Regions from separate parts of the Homo sapiens genome. Here region 2 is linked to region 1. Evidence: promoter capture Hi-C in 16 types of primary human blood cells and fetal thymus (Javierre and others, 2016). All regions are on one chromosome and are shown on one strand. Each heading gives the region's core, a stretch centred on a gene start or on the middle of the fragment in contact. The rest is flanking DNA. Distances are from core to core; before and after follow the strand shown. Region 1 holds the start of ZHX1 (zinc fingers and homeoboxes 1). Region 2 has its middle 27 kb from the start of LINC01151.

Evidence for each region. The method cuts DNA at HindIII sites, captures the fragments that hold promoters and counts their contacts. A CHiCAGO score of 5 or more calls a contact.
Region 2: a fragment that was not itself captured here is called in contact with the fragment with the promoter of ZHX1 in region 1 in 1 of 17 cell types (total B cells); the score reaches 5.9 in total B cells.

The regions. Positions count from the first base shown.
Region 1 is chr8:123,271,829-123,277,163 of GRCh38, forward strand. It overlaps ZHX1 (zinc fingers and homeoboxes 1), which reads right to left and starts at 2,458. Exons shown (of 4, transcript NM_007222.5): 1 at 2,389-2,458. It overlaps ZHX1-C8orf76 (ZHX1-C8orf76 readthrough), which reads right to left and starts at 2,458. Exons shown (of 6, transcript NM_001204180.2): 1 at 2,389-2,458. RefSeq lists silencers at 1,715-2,082, 2,119-2,318, 2,519-3,208 and an enhancer at 3,689-3,808. The HindIII fragment of the contact is 9,533 bases long and covers 845-5,335 here.
Region 2 is chr8:122,664,837-122,670,171 of GRCh38, forward strand. No RefSeq gene overlaps it. Among named protein-coding and RNA genes, the nearest start is that of LINC01151, 27 kb to the right of the region's middle. The HindIII fragment of the contact is 3,614 bases long and covers 393-4,006 here.

The DNA of each region.
Region 1 (5,335 bases), core at 1,208-3,707:
TACATCATGCATGAACTACCCCCCAAATCCGGTGAAATAATAAGCTTAGCTATAAAGGAAAGAAATCCACTAATGAGTGTTCACTAGCACAGGCACATTTATGTTTTCGGATTTAGCATATTTTCAAACCATCTGGCATTAATGCCTCTCTGGTTCACCCAGCCTAATCTGTTCAGAATTGAATATAAAACCAGAGCTACATGAACATTGAGGAAACCAAAGAACAGCACACGTGCATAAAATGTTCCAAATGTAAAGTTCTAAACTAGTTTCTATTTGAACTGTATCTTTAAAACATTTCCATTGAAGACGTTAAAGCTCTTTCGAAAATACAAGAATGGTTCAAGAAATCTCTATGAATCATCACTATCATCAGTTACCCAAGTATTACCCTTTCTCATTTTAATCCTGATTGTCAAATAAGGCGTCTGAAGAGGTACTTCAACAAAAAAGATTCATTGATAACTGAAATGCTATCATTTTATATCGAAAAGGTCCACGATTATACATTTTACTTTGTATAAAATTAGTCTGCTTAGCCTTAACATGCTTTGGGAAAGGAGAGAAAAGCTAAAAGGAAAAAAATATTCATGAAAGCCCTTTTTCTTTTATGTCCTGTTACCGCATTATTGTCATTGGCAGCACTCACATTTCTTTTGCTTAAAATCAGGAGTCAGAATTGCTACTTTAGAAATTAAAATAATCGATGGGTATACTAGGGCCAATTTCCCTGTTAAAACCAACTCCTGCTCACCTTCGCTCCCGACATAAAAACAAATGACTTTTTCAGAATAATTTTTCAGAAACGAAGATAATTAATGTAGCACCATATAACACAAATTAAAGCTTTCAGACAAAGACTGAGAAACAATGACCAACACCAGCAAATCTAAAGTGCTCTTATATATGTATACACACAACACACACACACACCCCAAACCAAATATTCACTGTTCCTGGGGGGAGACTGCTTCTTCCTCCCTAACCGTGAACCGCTGTATATTTTCCAATTTTGTGATTTTCCTTTTTCTGCTATCACATTAACCTCCAAGAGAACTGCTTAAGTTACATGGAATCCCAACCTAATCACATCACGACTTCTCTCTCAGCCTTTACATTTTTCTCTCAAATATTAGCTCTTCGCATTTTTTTTTTTTTCTAATAGCTGGGCTGAGTTGACAGAAAAGGGCTGTGGAATTCCTGCTCTGTCCGATATCTTCCCTGTATTCCTCTTTTCTCATCCCTAGTCTCTGTTCTAATTCCCCCGCCTGCTGTCTCTCATTGACGCCTTCCCAGCTGCTGGATCCTTCACTAACCTAAGCTAAGGATATCAAATGGAATCTTTTCCTTCTCAGGGGCTATGCTCTTTCCTTACAGTTACCCACGGAGGAGAGAGGACAGGAAAGGTACTAAAACAAAGAATTGCCAAGTCCCTTTACCTCCAACTTTGGTGTAAATATATAAGGAAAGGGGATCTGCCAGGGCTCTTCTTTCCTGCCCTTAGACCTTGTTCCTCTCACACCTCTCCTTCCCAGCCTTTTATACCCCTTGAGGTATTAGTAGATTGTTCACTGTGGGCCCTAAGGCTTGGAGGATTCCCATGGGTCAGCCCCCACACCCCCACGCCCCTACCATCCTCTTTAATTAACTTCTCCCTAAATCCCAGGGCTTCGTCACAATCGTAATATGGTTCTTAAGGACTCAACTCCCAGTCTTTCCCAAAGTTGGGACATGGCCTGGCCCCGAAACGGGTGCGCATAGCCTTCCTTGAACTGGAGGTAAAGACTTCTCCTGAAGGGTTTGCTGGGGCTCCAACCTCAGTCAGTGCGCTCAGCTCCAGCAAGAGAATCTCTCCTTACTCTCAGGGAGACTGGGTCCCCCACGAGGCAGCCACACGCCCCCGGAGGACAGCGCTCCTGACCTCCTCTAGGACTCCCAACATTACTGGGGTGCTCCCTCCGGCGGCGCCCTCCGCTGGGAATACGCAGTCTTCACTCCTCTCAACAATCCTAAGTTGCTGGGTCCTCACCAAGGCAGGGGGCTGAGATGTTCCCTCCAGAGAGCCCCCCGCCCCCAAGCTCTTTCGGTGGCGGAGACACCCAAAAAGAGCGAGGGAGGCTGTGGGTCTGTCTGTCCCTCTGCGGCGACTACCCAGCCGCGAGGCAGGCCCCGTCCCTCCCCCTCGGACGCCCCACGCCGGGTCCACCCCGCCACCCGCCGCCGCGAGCGGGCTCAGCCCCAGGGGTCTCTGCTGTGAGGCTGCCCTCCTCCCGCCAGGCCCCGCGCTACTCGCCTTTCCCGTGCCGGCCGCGGACTCTGCGCTCCAGTTCCCACCCGCAGCCCAGAGTCTCCGGGCCCGCTGGTCGCGGAGCCGGCTCGCGCCACTACCTGCAGGGGCCGCCGCGCCTCTCAGCGCCACGCCGCCGCCATCTTGCATTTCAAACCGGCTGCACTTTTCAGGGAGTCAACTCTGACCTGTGAACCCTAAACCCGGAACCGCTCGGCGGGCCCGCAAAGGGGCCTCAGCAGCTCGGTGGCCCCGCGGAGTGTGGGGACTCAGGGTGGGGGTGCGAGGAGAGGCGCGCGCCCCAGCGGCCGTCCGGGGGCGGAGGGGGAAGGGAGAGAGCCGGCCAAGGCGGGGCCCTCCCGCGCGCGCGTCCTCCGCGCGCCCCCACCCCGTGCGGCGCCGAGCTCTCCACGCCCAGACCCTGCTACTCCACTGGGGTCCGACCCCGGCCCCTAGTCCGGGGATTGGCGCACCGCGGGAGGTAGGGAGGCGCCCCGCCCCCCTGTCAACAGAAGCCCCGCCCCAGACTGCGGAAGCTCCGCCCCCTGTCAGGAGACGCCCCGCCTTCCCAGGGCTCGAAATGGCCCCGCCCTTTGCCTGCGACCGCTCCGCCCGCTGTGGACTGAAGCCTGGTCTTCTCTCGGGTCAGCACAGAAGGCAGCCCCGCCTTCCTTGCGCTCCGCCTTCCTAATGTCACTGCTGGATCGTGAGAGGTAAGCATGCTGGCTTCTACTGAAACGCCCCTTGTCATCACACGCCCATCCCCTGGGGCGACACGACCCAGGCCCCGCCCCTCGGGGGGCTGCTGCGAGTCCGGCCGGGAGCCCAGCGCCCTGACAGAAGTCGCCGCGCCCCTTGTCAGCGGCAGCTCCACCTCTCCTCGCTTCGGACCCCGCTCCTCCGCGGGCCGCAGCTCCACCCGCTGACACCGAAAGTTCAGTTCAGCTGCACTCAGAACCGCCGGGCAAGGCGGAGCCGCCCTCTGCCCCTCAGCCGCCCTCCTCCCTGCGAACCGCCACTCGCTCTTCCAGAGGCTTCTGTCCGAGTCGAGGGCTTCACATCCCGTCGGCTTTCAGGGAACCAGCCCCGCAGCGGGGCCAGCGAGGGCCAGGGGTTTCGGGAACACTGCCCGGCGTCTCCGCCCCTCCCTACTCACTTTCCCTTTCCCCCGCACCGCGGTCAGAACGTGGAGGAACAGAACCAAAGCGGAGAGCGGCGACTCACCCTCCAGCTGCTCCACACGCCGGGCCTTGGACGCTCGAGCGCTCCTGGGCCCCTTGACGTTCACTCCCCACCCCCATCCCAGTCGCGGACCCTTTGTGCAGAGCTCCGCTGAGCCACAGTAATCCTAAAAGCACAGCAGAGCTCCGCTGAGCCACATTAATCCTAAAAGATGCAATTGCTTCAAGTGGAAGTCTGATTTTTTTTTTTTTTTTGAGACGGAGTCTCGCGTTGTCGCTTAGGCTGAAGTGAAATGGCGCGATCTCTGCTCACTGCAACCTCTGCCTCCCGGGTTCAAGCGATTCTCCTGCCTCAGCCTCCCGAGTAGTTGGGATTACAGGGGCCCGTCACCTAACGCCGGGGTAATTTTTGTATTTTTGGTAGAGACAGGGTTTCGCCATGTTGGCCAGGCTGGTCTTGAACCCCTGAACTCAAGTGATCCGCCAGCCTCGGCCTCCCAAAGTATTGGGATTACAGGAGTGAGCCACCGCGCCTGGCCGTGGAATCTGATCGTTGAAATCAGTGTTCTACAATATTCTTTTTATTTGTAGGTTTCATCCTGGAATCCTAAAACTTGTGTAGGATAAGGCTTAATTTTATAAGCAAAGGTATTCAACCCTGCCACATTCAATGCCCTGTATTTACAACAAAAAATATAACACTGCTTTACTCTTCTGGAGTTAAATTCCTAATGCAAACTATCTCTACAAATAATTTCAAGAAACCAATGTAATGTTCTAATAAAGGTGAAAAAGGAGAAAGTAGTTCATAATAAAATACTGTATGTACTAATATCAAGAAAAATTTTAAAATAACAGAGTTTTCACAATGTAAATACTCTGCCACCAATAGAATGCAAAACAAAAACTGTCCCGGCAAAATTTCAGTATGCCCCTGAGGGGCAGTACTGCCCTCGCTGGGAACCTCTTTAGACCGAGGAAGAGGTCTGGAAATGCTTCAAATAGAGAAATTCATTCTTTTGTCTACACAGTTAATGACAAGTTTTCTTTTGTTGTTGTTGTTGTTGTTGTTTTTGAGACGGAGTCTCGCTCTGTTGCCCAGGCTGGAGTGAAATGGTGCGATTTCGGCTCACTGCAACCTCTGCCTCCTGGGTTCAAGTCATTCTTCTGCCTCAGCCTCTTGAGTAGGTGGGATTACAGGCGCGTGCCACCACACCCGGCTAATTTTTGTATTTTTAGTACAAACGGGGTTTCACCATGTTGGTCAGGCTGGTTGCGAACTCCTAACCTCGTGATCCGCCCTCCTTGGCCTCCCAAAGTTCTGGCATTACAGGTGTGAGCCACCACACCCGGCCGATGACTAGGTTTTGTGTGTGCCAGTATATGCCAGGCACTGTGGGAGATGTACAGCTGAGTTAGTCAACTTTCCTGTCTTCCAGGAACTTACAATCAAGTAGCCAAGCAAAAAACAGGAGCATAAAGATGTGTCAAGTGAAAGATGAGAAGAGACCCCTTTAGGGATGTGGAGCTGTTGACTGTAACTTCACATTTTACCCCCACTTCCTCCCTCACTTTATTCTTCCTTCTCCTCTTCTACTTTAGCACTAGTTTATAGAGTCACCTCCTCCTCCCTATAAGCTGTCTCCCTGGTTCACTGCCCAATGCCAGCCATCCAGAATTCTCCCAGTTTAGGGTCATGCCCACAGGGCAATTCTGTCCAAGAAAACACAGTGCTGAGAACAATGTCCTTAGCTGAATTGCTGCCAATTACTTGGTATCCTTCTACAAAGCAAGACTGTTATCATCACCACTCAAAAAAAAAAACTGGTTGCAGACTTAAGCAATATGAATATATGTTTAGCATAGC
Region 2 (5,335 bases), core at 950-3,449, 610 kb before region 1:
CCAGTTTATAGAAAATATCCCCCAAGTCTTGTTTTCCTGGCCTTACCAACCTGGCTTATTTTGGATACAATCAGTACCTGAGGGTGAGGCTCAGAAGTGCCATCTGGTCCTCCCATGTCTCCATGGCATATCTCATACACAGCCAGAAATGGCTGTCAGCAGGAATGCCCTACAGGCCAAACAAAAATGCACCCAGTAATAGATGCATGTTTATTTTCTTTTCCATTTCCCACCTTTCTCTCACTTTATTTCAGAGCTTTTGCTGTCTGTTTTACTACTTGGGAAAGCCCCTTGGAGTATCATTCTGAAGTAAAATTACTTCATTTAATCCAATGTATTGCTCTTGGAAAAAGGTTTTATTTCCCGTACTTGAAGCTGGGCAGTAAACAATAAGCTTCTATTTTTCCTAATCCTAATTTCCAACCTTTTCTTGTGTCTTCATAGTTAAGGGAGCTAACAAATTTGTACCATGCCCCATCATTGAAGGAGACTTTGCCTAGAGCCTGGATGGAAAAACAGATATTTCTGTTCAAATTTTACTCAACACACTCCCAGAAGAAAAGGCAGTGAACCAGTTATGCTCAGGTAGTTGCCTTCACGTTTGTAGGGAGTTGTTCTTCCAGGTTGAGTGGTTCCAAGAATGAGGTACAAATTCTTCAGTTCTACAACATTTTCAGTGACTGCATCCTGCACACGAGAACTTTCTATGCAGCTTAGCAAAACAAGGTAGGCATTGACTTTGGAATCAGAAGAACATTCGGGCTCTTCTCAACCCATTTCAATCAGACTTTTACCCCCACCATGTAACAAAGTCACCAATGGCCTGTCAAGGTCACTAGTGCCTGCATCTGACCAAGTCCAACAATGGATTTTAATCCTCATCTTACTTAATAGCAGCAACTGACACTGTTGATCCTTCTTTTCATGAAACACTTTTTTTTTACTGGGTTTCTAGGCAGTCCCACATTCTTTTTTCCCCTCTTCCCAATCTGTCTCTTCCATCTCTCCCTCTCTGGATTCCCCTCTTCCTCCTGACCTATATAGACTGACAGACCCCAGGCTCACTTTCAGCCTTCTTGTTTCCTCTCTCTGCTCTCATTCTCCATGTGATCTCATCCAGTCCATGGCTTCAAAGTCAGTCTACATGCTGAGGACTCCCACATTTTATCTTTAAATCCATTGTTTCCCTTATTAGAAATGTCCAAAATGGAATTCCTAATTTTTCCCCTTAACCCTGCACCTCCCTCAGACTTCTACAACTCAGCAAGTGGTACAAATCCTTCACCAAGGTGTTCAGACCAAAACCCTGGAGTCCGTCTTAACTCTTCCGTTTCTCATACCCCACATTTATTCAAGCAGCAAGTCCTTTTACCACCTCAACTGTTTCCACTCTAGACCAAGCCAGCTTCATTATTTTTTATTGAGACAAGGTCTTACTCTGTCACCCAGGCTAGAGTGCAGTGGTAAGATCACAGCTCACTGCAGCCTTGAGCTCCTGGGTTCAAGTGATGCTCCTGCCTCAGCCCCGCAAGTAGCTGGGACTACAGGTGTATGCCACCATGCCTGGCTAATTTTTTTTTTATTTTTTGTAGAGACAGGGTTTCACCATGTTGCCCAGGCTGGTCTTGAACTCCTAAGCTCAAGTGATCCACCTGCCTTGGCCTCCCAAAGTGCTAAGATTACAGGCATGAGCCACTGCACCCAGCCACTGGCTTCATTTTTGCCTTATTATTGCAATAACCTCCTGTGGTTTCCAATAATTTGCTTCTCCTTCCCCACCCCACTGATACTAGGCTTACACTCATGACTTGCTTTGGTCAGTGAAATGTGATGGAAATGATGTTTGTCACTTCCAGGCAGAAGAGTTCAGAAGCAGAATGTGATTCACTGTGATCTTTTTTTGTCTCTTCCATGAGACCATCAATAGCTCCAGAGGGAGCTGCTTTATCAGCTTGGGTCCTAGAGTGAAGATAATGTGGAACAGACCTGCAAAACATGGAACATTGTTCCTTTGGAATTACTCAGCCCATCCCAATGAATACACCTACCCACTTGGCTTTTTACTTCCATGTCACCGCCCTCCCTAACATCCACCCAGTAAATTCTCGACATAGTATTCAGAGGGATATTTTGCAAGGGTAAATTAGATCATGTCATTTCCCCACTCCAAGTCCTCCAAAGACTTCCACTTAACTTAGAATAAGATCCAGTTTTCTCATCTTGTCTATAAACCCCTTTATGGCTCAGTTCTAGCTCACCACTCTGACCACATCTCTTATTTCCTTCCTCTCTCTCTTTTCTGACATGGAGAAGTCCACACTGGCTTTCTCTCTGTTTCTTGAATATACCAACCTCATTCCAACATCAGGGATCTTGCATTTGCTGAACCCTCTGACTGGGATGTTTGTCCTCCAGATACTTGCATGGCTGACTCCCTCGCTTCCAGCAGACACCTGCTCAAATGTTGCCCATCTGAGAAGATTTCCTGCATATCTGGTTTAAAATAGTCCATTCCCTCTTCCCACCTGGCCACCTGCTACCTCCTTCCTCAGCTTTATTTTACTTAATAGCACCTATCACTACCAATTAATATATTTTACAATTTTTTTTTATTTGTTGTTCGTCTCTCCTTCTAGAACATAAATTTCACAAGGACAGGAACTTTTTCTTACTTACTATTAAAATTCACAGAACTCTTAACACTGCCAGGTACATGGTAGACTTCAAAAAATTATATTTGTTTTGAATGAATGAATGAAGAAATGATGCCTGAGATTTTCACACTTACTGTCTGTGCGAATATGGGCAAATTATTTTAATTTTTGAGTTCAGTTTCCTTGTCTGTGAAATGGAGACAGCAGTCCCTGAATTTTCTACTTTCCTGGGTTATCGTGAGGACCAAAGCAGATTGCGACTGCAAGTATGCCTTCCAAACAACAAAGAACTATGGAAATATTACATAGGATTATTGATACATTAGCCTATTTCAGACACCAGGCAAATTTTTGGCCAAACTCTGAGAGAGAAAACTGTGTCTCCGATGGACTTTACCTCATTTTTCTATTACCATTTCCCCAAAATGTGGTATATGCTTTTCTCCTCTTGAATCCAGGCACTTCCTCTTATTTGTAGAATAGGAAGAGTAATACAAACCTGGGTTATCTCCAAATCTGCCACAGCTGACCTTGGAGAAGTTCCTTAACCTTCTGAGGCTCAGATTCTTTATCCATTAAATAGTGAGTATGAAGAACTGATTTCGTAAAGCTATTATGAGGCTGTAATGAGTCATGCATATGAAGAACTTTGAAGATTGAGTGGGATATAGTAATCTTGTAATAAGTGTTAGTTATTGTTATTCACTTAACTATTGACTGCCTGTGCAAATGATACTTCATACATTTTTGTATGTGAATCAGATGAGGGAAGGTATGCCCATTACTTAGAATGGTGCTGGAAGCCTCACAGGTGCTTAATAAATAATTGCCATTATAAGTAGTAGCGGTGGTGGTGGTCGTGGTAGCAGTAGTTCAGAGCAGTTGTGAATTTCAACAAAATTGTTTTAATGGTCCATGGTCTCTTGATATAATTTTGTTCTTCTCCTTTTCCAGCATTGTGGTGCTAATTAGGAGACTTTTATATAAACCTTTTCCCTAACCATTTCAGCAAGTCACAATTCATTACACCCAAAAGCATCAGTCCAAATTCTAACATAATAAACCCCATGGCTACAGGCCCTACCCCACCCCACCCCCTGAAAAAGAGATCAATGATCTGTGGGTGTTGGTTGCAATGTAAAAGTCAAAACCTGACTACAGTTAAGTTTGTAGGGGCCCTGGCACTGCTACCTGCCTAGGAATTGATGACCTACGGTTTTCAACCTCTCCTAGAAATATGAACTGGGTTCTTGGCATAGAGTCTCCACAAAATCACCAGTGCAGTACTTCCTAAATACAGATATCCCTCATTCTCTTTCTCTAAGTATGAAATGGAATCCAAACTTTGGTCAAGCTTTCAAAAGACATCCTTCTCACTAATTCTTCCCTAGGATCTCTGCTTTAATCTAAGAGAATGATAGGCAGCCATGCCAACTTCCTACATCTATTATCAATTCCGAAAAAGCTGTTCCCATTTCCTTTGAGCCACATGCTAAAACATCTTCTCACCCTCACCATAAAATCGTTCAATGCTGTAAGAGGATATTATAGACTTCCACTTAAAAGTGGTGGATGGAACATAAACATTATTTCTGCTCCCTCCCAGAAATTCCAATAAATATTACAGCAAAGGAATTTTTTTTTTTTTTGAGATGGAGTCTCACTCTGTCACCCAGGCTGGAGGGCACTGGCCTGATCTCAGCTCACTGCAACCTCCACCTCCTGGGTTCAAGCGATTCTCCCGCCTCAGCTTCTCAAGTAGCGGAGATTACAGGCACCCGCCATCATGCCTAGCTAATTTTTGTATTTTTAGAAGAGATGGGGTTTCCCTATGTTGACCAGGCTGTTCTCGAACTCCTGACTTCAGGTGATGCACCCTCCTTGGCCTCCCAAAGTGCTGGGATTACAGGTGTGAGCCACTGTGCCCGGCTGGAAAATTTTTTTTAAGCATTAAACCTCAATGAAAAAGATAACCAGAAAGAACATAAACAAATAAAATCTGGGGCTCTAGGAAGCAGATGAACCAGTGATAACTCACTTAACAGACCTAAGGAAGTTGAACCCCAAGCTAACAATAAGAACAAGCCCGATTTTCACTGCAGAATCCCAGGGTACCACTGGACATAGGTGGGAAGTTGAGTCTGTTGACACAATGACTGGCTGGAAGTATGTTTAAGAAGTAGATAGACCCTCCCCAGGCCCCTCATCCTGCCCCTTCCCCAACCCAGACAACTGAAGGCTTAATTCCTGGAAAGAATAAAGCATAGTGGGGCATATACAGCATTGTTGAGGGCAGGGACAGTGTACTGAACACAGGAAGATTGAGTGAGAGGTTACACACTGAGTATGAGGACCTTAGCTCTCAGAGCATAAGAAGCCAGACTTAACACTCTGCTTGCCAGAGACTGAAGCACACCTCTCTAGGAAGTCTATCTACTCCAAGAAAAGATATAGCAGCACTAACAACAGAATACCCCTGGAGAAGCAGATTGGCCAAATCACCTTACAAGTAGTGAGTTCAGAGTTAACAAGTTCCACCCCCACACACTGAGTTTCTAATTTGCTTTTAAGCGTCTCATTTCAAAATGTGAGCCTTAGTCAATGACCACCAAAACTCTGAGGAAATTCCCTAACTTGAAAAATACAATTGACTCTCCAAAAACTTAACTACTAATAGCCTA